Regions from separate parts of the Homo sapiens genome. Here region 2 is linked to region 1. The links are contacts of gene promoters, found by promoter capture Hi-C in human tissues and cell types (Jung and others, 2019). All regions are on one chromosome and are shown on one strand. The core of a region is centred on a gene start or on the middle of the fragment in contact, and the rest is flanking DNA. Distances in the headings are between cores, read along the strand shown. Region 1 holds the start of NLGN1 (neuroligin 1). Region 2 overlaps NLGN1 (neuroligin 1).

The links. The method cuts DNA at HindIII sites, captures the fragments that hold promoters and counts their contacts. A contact is called where the count stands out against the background at its distance.
Region 2: a contact is called between a fragment that was not itself captured here and the fragment with the promoter of NLGN1 in region 1, in 4 of the 25 tissues and cell types used here (H1 embryonic stem cells, adrenal gland, hippocampus and 1 more).

The regions. Positions count from the first base shown.
Region 1 is chr3:173,395,560-173,400,102 of GRCh38, reverse strand. It overlaps NLGN1 (neuroligin 1), which reads right to left and starts at 2,359. Exons shown (of 7, transcript NM_001365925.2): 1 at 2,040-2,359. RefSeq lists an enhancer at 3,591-4,090 and silencers at 4,316-4,405, 4,426-4,505. The HindIII fragment of the contact is 5,603 bases long and covers 1-4,543 here.
Region 2 is chr3:173,434,386-173,438,928 of GRCh38, reverse strand. All of the region lies in intron 1 of NLGN1 (neuroligin 1), which reads right to left. Among named protein-coding and RNA genes, the nearest start is that of NLGN1, 39 kb to the right of the region's middle. The HindIII fragment of the contact is 8,103 bases long and covers 1-4,543 here.

The sequences.
Region 1 (4,543 bases), core at 1,110-3,609:
GTATATGTTACACAGCTGCAGTTTCTAATACTACTGTTACTTTTAACTGTGTTTTGCTTACAAAAACTACAAATTAGTATTTGTTAGGTAATTTGTGAAATAACTCCTTTGTGTAAAAATAATAAAGAATTATCAAGATAAACCATTACTATGTTAAAAACTGTTTCAATACATGAAAACCCAGAGAGATACGTCACTCAAAGCTATATCTGTATTAATATTGTCTCACAAAAAGTTGTCAATAGCATTAAAATGTATGTGAAAAATTTTATAAAAAACTCAGATCTCAGATTTATAACTGTATTTTATAGTTCTAGCTACTTAATTATCCTATAAAGAAAACCAGAAACAGCTAGTTTAATGTAATTTGAAGGGATATGTAGATCTTGGCACTGGATAACCATGTGAAAATAGTAAAAGCAGAATAAAATATAAGAATTTCAGAGTTGGAAGAGACTTTGGAGAGTGATCCAAGAAAGTCATCCAGGAATGCATAGGGTCATCAGGCCTTCCAACACCCTGCAAATGAAACCAATGGAGTTCTCAGCCTACCTTCTTTAAGTGTATATTTCACCTTCAACTTCAAAGCCATTCAAACATTTACATTTGAAAATATGTTATTACTAAATGTAAGTGGAAAATTTCACAAAATAAAACTATACTGAGGGAATAAAGAAAAGATTGACAGCAAGTACTTTGGGGGTGGAAGAAGGGAGACAATGGGAAGGACGGGAACTAAAGAAGCTTTTCTTACTCCACACTACTGGAACTCTAGTAGAATCTGCTGAAAGATTGACTCCCTCAATTTCTGCTTATGTTAAGAGGATTGGGAAGACTAACTGCAGAATAGCAGGCTTACAGAAAACAGTTACTTCTTTTAATCAAACCATGTAATCAGAAGGCCTGAGTAATGATTAACTTCCACTTTCTCTGTGAATCACTCAATCACTCTGCAGTGCAAGTAGACTTAGATTCATTCTCTGCCAAAGGCACAGTAAATTTAATGTTTTTGCATTTAACATTTAATATTTTAAATATATGAATGGCCCTTGCTTCTGAGCTCATTTCAAAAACCTTGTGTTCTGCTAGGTTACAATGGCTGATAGAAATGCTGAGACATTTTATAGGTTTTACACTCAAACATAGGTACACATACCCTTTCTCAGTGACATTTTAATATCTATGATCCTATTAATAATTGAGCACAATTAATGGTGAGAAATGCATTAAGACCCTGTAATTTTCATGTACAGCATGACAACTCAATTGACTTAAGCAAAAATAGTCTACCGGAGTTTGAGTATAAAAAGAGGGAAAATGAGTATATTAACTACCTGTAAAAATGCAGAGTAACAGATACTGGGTTAACTATACGAATTCACGTTTCCCAAGTGTTATATGTATCACTATGGCCCTGGAAATGCAAAAAGAAATAGTACCTTTGTGGAGGCCAACTGTTCATGATTTAGAATTATCACAAATGAATCAAATATTGGACATGTAATATCCCTCATCTCTATAACACACTAACAACCTCCTCTGGAAGAAATTATTCCCAATGCAAAATCTCAACCTAAATAATTTTAAATTCAGGTGGTTTTTCATTTCTACTCACAAGGCATTGTGTTGAGGCGGGCAGGAGTCGGTGGAGAACGGTTTAAATGTTTGGAATACCTTCTCTTCCCAGGAGAGTTTATTGCCCAATAATGCATAATATATTAGTTGCTCAACGCGGGGGATCTAGGGAGTGACATCTTGACTGGAAACACACAGATCTGAAAACCACCTCTCAGGAAACGTTGTGGGGAAGAAGAGCAACTTTCTTATCCCTGTCAAACTAACCGGCGGAACCAACCCCAGAACTAGCCGGAGGGCCTGGGGAGAGCAGAAGGCTGAAAGCAGCTCCTCTGCGCTCCGCCGAGGGTTCAGGCAAGGGTTTTCTTCTGGAGGCGGCATTGTTCCTCCATCTGCTCAGCCTCCGTATTTCGCCAGGAAACCCTCCCCGCTTTCTCGTAATCTGTTCCTTATTTCTTTTGTACCTCTCAGCCGATTTCCATGCTCTTGGTCTCTGTGGTCCCAGGGCACAGCTCTAGGGTGAAGAGCTGCAGTGACTGGGGCGCCGCTCTAAGGCTTTGGAGGCGACTGCACTCCGCCCGGGCTCTGGCAGCGTGAGCGCCGCACAGTCGCTCGCTCCCTTCTCTCCGGTCTCTCCGGCTCGGACGGGCTCTCCCGGCCTCTCATCACCCACTCCGACTCGCCTTTCCTGCCGTGTCTCCCCACGCCAGCTCCGCGCGCTCGGCGCTGGCCGCCCGGGCGCGCTCTCCGCGCCGCCGCCTGATCCTCGGCTTACAGCCGCGGCGCTCCCCCGCCCGCCCACAGGCCGGGACTCCGAATTGAAGGGTCAACCCTCCGCGGGGAGGCGGGGAGGAGCGGCGAGGAGAGCTGGGGCAAGTGGGGAGCCGCGGGTGGGGGGACTGACGGGGGAACGGGAGAGTGAGGCCAAGAAGAAAGAAGATGCATCTGCTCCGAAGACGCCAATGAAGAAAGGACAGAGGGGGCAGGAGTGGAGTGGGGGAGAGAACGCCCACCAGGAGGGTGGGCAAAACGGGCAATTTACAAACTGCCGGGGCTGGAGATGCCGCGCGGAGGAGGAAAGAGGTTAGCGGCACAGAAGAAGAAATGAGGGGAAGTTCCCACATCTCCCCAAAAGGTCACGTTTGAAAACCGTGTCCCTTGAACGGGAGTTAAACAAGCGACTGGCCATGGTGTAAAAGGTGGATTTAAAAGGAAATTTAGTGTCATGTACTTATTTAGACACGGCTTCGTCTCGCTCAACTCTGGCAAATTACCCTCCAAGTAAAATGTATTGGTTTTATGCAGAAACGGAAGGCGAATCTCCTCCACTGTGGACTCCTCCTGAGATTGGTTTGTTTGCTGGTTATCTTTCTTTTTAAATGAAAAAAAGCGTTTGGGAGCTTCCATGAACCCCAACGCTTAAAAAAAACCACCCAGTTTATTAAAGTTCATTATTTTTTATTGCTTTTATTTTCATCAGAGGATAGGGTGAGGGACTGGCATCTTCAGATGTTTAAAACACTTATTTAGGTAGCATTATTTTTTATAAAGGACACGATTTCCTAAAACCGCCAGAAAGGCTATTGGAAAACTCAGCTACTAGCCTGGGAAAGAGAGACGCATTTAAACTCAAATAGACGATTATACCTCCAGCACCCCCCACCCCCACCCCAATGGGATTGGAAAAGGGTTGAGTTTACAGAAGAGAGAGAGCAGAGAAGGGTGGGTGGAAGGTGGGGAAGGCGAAGGAGAGGCAGGGAATAGGAAGTTCTCGGCAATCCCCGGGATTAAGGTAAACGCCGGAGCTCGGCGGACGCAGGAAGCTCCCTTACCTTTCTCTCTAAGCCCCGTTTGCACCTGATCTGCAACCATAAATACTTCGTGGTGCTTAGTGTGCAGCCAAACGATGGCCAAATGTTAAACAATTCTTCACGCTCCCTCCCCCTTTTAAAAAACAGGCTCAAAAGAATGTTAATAGTGTTCTTGTTATCCATCGGCTCCAAAACATTCCGTTTCGTGGGGAGGAGAGACGAAAACCAGGCCCTTGGGCACGCGTATATGTATTTATATATTATGCGGTCGGTATATAAACATATATACGTTTCCTGCATGTAAATCCAAAATGAAAAGCACCACAGATGCTTCTGTAAACGGGAGGGGACAGCGAAGAGCAAAACTTGGCAAGCCAAATGTATCCAGAGATTTCGTACCAGGAGCCACCTGCTTCAATATGCAGAATTTCCGAGAAGATTTAGAGGGAGAAGGAAAAAAATTAAAAATAAAATACCCAAAACACACACTTGAAACTGGAAGACACCTATGAAGCTTGGAAATGGAGAGGATGAGAAGATCTCCCGGGGCTACAGATCCTCAGCTAAGTGAGCAATCGCCTCCGAAAATCATAGGCGGGGAGGTGGCTGCAGATGCGTCCCCTGCTCCGGTCCCCGCCGCCGCCGCCGCCGCCGCCACTGCTACCTGTAGACACGCACACACACACGTACACGCGCGCACACACACTGCCACCTTCTCTCTCTCCCTCTCCCCTCACTCCGTGGCGTTGTCGGGTGCAGGAGTCTGAATCAAGCCAGACCATCCTCCAGACCCAATCCTGCCCCCCTCAGAGCCAGGACTCCCTCCGCTGCCTCCCTCTCCCCGCCCGGTTTATTGCACAGCGTCCCCTCCCCTGCGCGCCCCTCCCGCCGGTCGGAGGCGCGATCTTGGTGGGGGTGGGCTTCGGGGGCGCGGGTCCGGCGGTGGCAGACTTGGTGCTGGTGATGGCCCCTCCCTTTACAAGTTCCGCCCTCCTCCCTTACTCCTCCCGCGGCAGCCGAGCGTCCTCCGCCCGCAGCTTCCGCAGCGCCCGCGGCGGCAGGAGGGGTGAAGGGCCCAGGGAGTCACGTGTGAGGTTCGCCAAACCACTCAGAGCGGCGTGTGAGTGAACGGGCACGACCGCCCAGACGCGAGGCGT
Region 2 (4,543 bases), core at 1,521-4,020, 38 kb before region 1:
AGTCTATCTTTAAGGAACTTCAGAAGAGATAATCCTGAAAATGTCCACACGATAACTATGGTTTTTACTTTTCTTGCTAACATATAACACTGTTCCCTCTTCTTACATTCAAGGAAGAAAAAGGAACATCCAGTACCCATTAACTCCCTGAAGGCAACTGTATCTTTATCTTTTCTGTCTACTGAATATTTCTAATTCCTTTAATCTTTCTTTAGAATCCCATTTTGAAACGTGTGAGAGACTATTAATGATCCCTAAATCTTCCGCAGTTTTTCTATATTTTCTTAATAATTTCAGCTCTAAACTTTGAAAATAAAAGTGAAAAATTAAAACTTTTTATCAGTGATTCATAATTATAACAGGTATCAATATTAGAATCATATTATTTTTAAAAATAAGAGCACTATATTGCATACTGTTTAAAAAAGACTGCATATTGGATCTGTGAGCCCAGGATCCAGGGAAGAAATTCTGGATCAAGTTGGCATGTCTCTTTAACTTAGTTATTTCCTTCATTTCTGCCATTTTTTTCCTTGTATACTTTTAATAGGAAAGACGATATGTATAAGGCTCATTTTTTTTCACCTTTTTAAAACTATATTCCTATCTTAACCAGGAAATTGGGTTTCTGATATAGAAACTTTACAACACAAAACATTTATGCATCTAGGATATAAGATTTTCTCCATCATCAAATTAAAAGGGTTTTGATTTGGAAATACAGTCCAAAGGGGGAAAAAACCACCATTAAAGTGAAAGTTATGTCAAAATAACCAAACCATCAAAGGCTTATTTCTGTTTTTTTAAGAGAGAAATATATTCATGTCTATCTGCTATAAACCCCAAATGAATGAATCCTTCAGGACTCACTTCCCTTGATAATAAATCTGCAATGTTAAAAAAAAATCCAAAGTAACAAATTTTATAATCATTGGGGACTTGGATACTTGGAAACTCAGTCTAAGGGCTGAAATGAAAGAAAAAGACCAGTAAATTGCTAGTTTGATGGTAGAGGGGATGGTGGCAGTGGTTAAAGGGTGACTGATAGTAGGGAAGGCAGGATCAGGAAGGCAAAGATAGCAGACCTTTGTCTGTAACACAATACAGCACGTGTGTGTGTGTGCATATCTGTGTGTGTGTGTGTTGGTGGGTGGGGGTGGTGAAAGTAATGGCAGCAGCAGAGGCAAAGCCAAGAGTGATGGTGGCAGGAACGGCAATGAAAGAAACAACACACGATGCACGATACTTGGCATGTTTGTAGTCTGGAGGCAAGATTTAAAGAAAATCAAAAGTTGGTAGTCAAATGAGAGGAAATCAAGTCCACTAAGCTAAATGAAGAGTCAAGTCAGAGAACCAGCTCCAAGACAAGTACCATAGAATACAACTGAGATTAGACACAATGTCATATCCATCAACGTTCAAAAGCAGGAGGAGCAAGGGGCTGCACACAGGAGTGCTGAATAAATTCCAATGCATGTTTTATTGCAGCTGCAACTGTCTTTTAATAATGTAGCTGAAAAAGCCTCATCTTCCTTCATTCAATCTTAAAGGGCTTCTGGTCACAGTGAGTAATCAGGTCTTTACAGTAGATGACCAAGTCCTCTCAGAAAGCAGTAGTTATGGCCACAATAGACACATGTGGTATTGGCAGTGACAGACAATACCAACAGCTGAACATCTAGCTGTGATAATTAAGAAACCAGGGGATAAAGAGCAGGAGGAAGCAACAGTCAAATTATTCCAAGTATAGGTACTTTCTAAACAGATCACGACTTGGGAATTTTCCTCAGGTTTCTCATCTTATTTCTACATCCAAAAATGGAATCTTGACAGTCAAATGTTTTATGTAGTGCTTCTTATTGCTAATGTCTGAGTCAGTCATGCAGGAATCAGAATCTACTTCAAGAAGTTTTAATAAGGATGACTTTAGATCTGGACAGGGTGAAGAAAAATAAAAAGGAACATTGCAGCACCAAGGGAATGACAATAGAAAGAGGTTATGACTGGCCTAAGGGCAAGAGAAAAATAGTGTTACTGGAGTACAGTTAGAGCTGGAGGCATAGAAAAAGGCCACCCAACCTGGGTCATAGTGATAAAAAGATGTAGTAACTGCTAGAAATCATGGCTTAGAGCAGGAAAGAATGGCGGGGATGGGGTTTTAACCCAAACTCTCTCTCTTACACTCTGTTCTCCTACCATTGTCTTGCATTTGTTGGATTTTTAAAAGAAGCCAACTATCAAGGGGGCCTGGGTGGATGTAACTTATAGAAGTCAAGGTTAGCTTCTCAAGGCATACAACAAGACAAAGAAGAGGAGAACATGGATCTGGCTGGGTTGAGTTACAGATAAAAACCTGTAGATATGGAATTAATGGGACACATAGTTAAACCACGCCTAAAATTAATGCTCTTGGTCACAAACACACAGTCTTCCCTATTTGACTTCCCTAATGTAAGGTCCTCAAATCATGACAGATGGGTCATGAGTGGTAGGAAATTAAGAGTTATTAAAACATGTTCCAGAACTCATGTGTGTGCCATACATTATTTGCCAAAGAATGGGAGCCACTAACCAGAATAAACAAAATTGTGTGAGGTGGAGCAGTCTTCCGTTTGTTTATAACTACTCTGAAATAATTTTAATATTGGGAAATATATTCTAGATGTTTCCTTCTTAGCATATTTGGATGGTGACAATGAAAAATTGTTTTGCTTTTAATGCTGGTCATTTAAAACTGATTTCTTAATTTCTTAGCAAAGGCTAAATAATCATTTCTGTCTTTTCTTCTCAACAAGTGCTGGGTTCACTCAGTGTTTGGTAAATTGATGTAAAAAGCGAGTTATAGACATGCTCTAATAACATACATCATGTGTTGTTTGATTTTGTTCTTGCGGCTGTAGGTTAATCAGTTTGGTTTGGGGTTTAGTTACAAAGAACAGAGAGTCAGTTTGATATCAGTGGTTCTTTCTGACCCAAAAGCCATTATTTCTTCTTTAAAATATTCTTCTCTCATTAAAAATGATGTCAGCCTTCCTTGTTGACTAAATGCATCGTATAGACTTTTACTAAAGTTTTCTTTCTTATTTTTTTTCTTTAAAGGGAGTCTTGCTCTGTTGCCCAGGATGGAGTGCAGTGGCATGATCTCAGCTCACTGCAGCCTCTGCCTCCCAGGTTCAAGCAATTCTCCCGCCTCAGCCTCCTTAGTAGCTGGGACTACAGGCGTGCACTGCCACGCCTGGCTAATTTTTGTATTTTTAGTAGAGATAAGGTTTCACCATGTTGGCTAGGATGGTCTTGATCTCCTGACCTCGTGATATGCCCCCACCTCAGTCTCCCAAAGTGCTGGGATTACAGGCGTGTGCCACCGCACCCAGCCTACATTTTTTTTTCTAAAAATGACTTTATTGAAGTGATTATAAATATCACAACATAACGCTTCCGTGAACATAAGATTTTCATATATGTGTGTGTATGTATATATCATCAAAAGAGAATCAAACTTTGTAACATAAAAACATTATATATTTAAGTGAAAATAATAGCTGAAAAAGGGAAAGAAATTTTCAAAAATAAAATCAGTTTTTCTATGGCAGGTTATGGGGGTAGAAGGAGAAAAAGTGTACACTCAAAGCATGGTTAAAGGATTATGCCAGCTTGTCAAAACTATACTGCATATTGTATGGCTAAAAGTATTAAAATTGTTCAACAGAAAAATCAATGGAACAAAAGAGGTAAGTCATGACTATGGTGGATGGTCAGGAAACAGAATTGCTGTTTTGCCGTGGGAGCTTTTGTTACTACTTTTCTAACACTTCAGTGATTGAAAGGAAATCAAACTGCGAGAACTTACTGCCACTCCAGTGAGCCCTGGGGGATTTGTCACAAATTTGGAACTTGAGTGGCCTCAAGCTTCACAGGTCTGCTCCTCAGAAGTGTCAGAAAGCAAAGAGAAAGCAGAGAATTAGTGACACGGAACTGAGCAACTACGTATTTTCAAATGGTGGGTGAATTTCAGGCCACCTTTTAAGTTTTACATTAGACCAAATGACCAAAAAATTTCCTCTAAAGCATGTGCTACACTTAGGAGTTTCCAACAACAACCATTATTTGGCAGCTATTCACAGATAATTCTGAACCTACTCTTGCCTAATAGAAAGCTTCTTAAACACTGAAAATTGGATAAATAACTACAAAATAGAGTGGCTTTATAACTCCTTTTAGACTATTTTATAGGGTGTCATTTTACTAAGAACCTCAGAAAGGACAGGAACATTCAAGGAACTTAGCTCTTGATCCTAGAGAGCTGGTGAACATCAACAGCTTATTCTGAAAGTAGATTGTAGAGAGTGCAATTGTCTCCAACTACATGATGTCCTGTATTCCCTGAATAATGATATAATCACTAGAAATAGTGTGTTTACTCTTTGTCTGCACTTTAAACAAAAGTATACTACTTGAAACATTTATTCAAATATTGTTTCACTCTAAATCAGTGTTTCTTAAGTGAGGCCCATGAATTGTAATCACCTGCAGTGTTTGATCA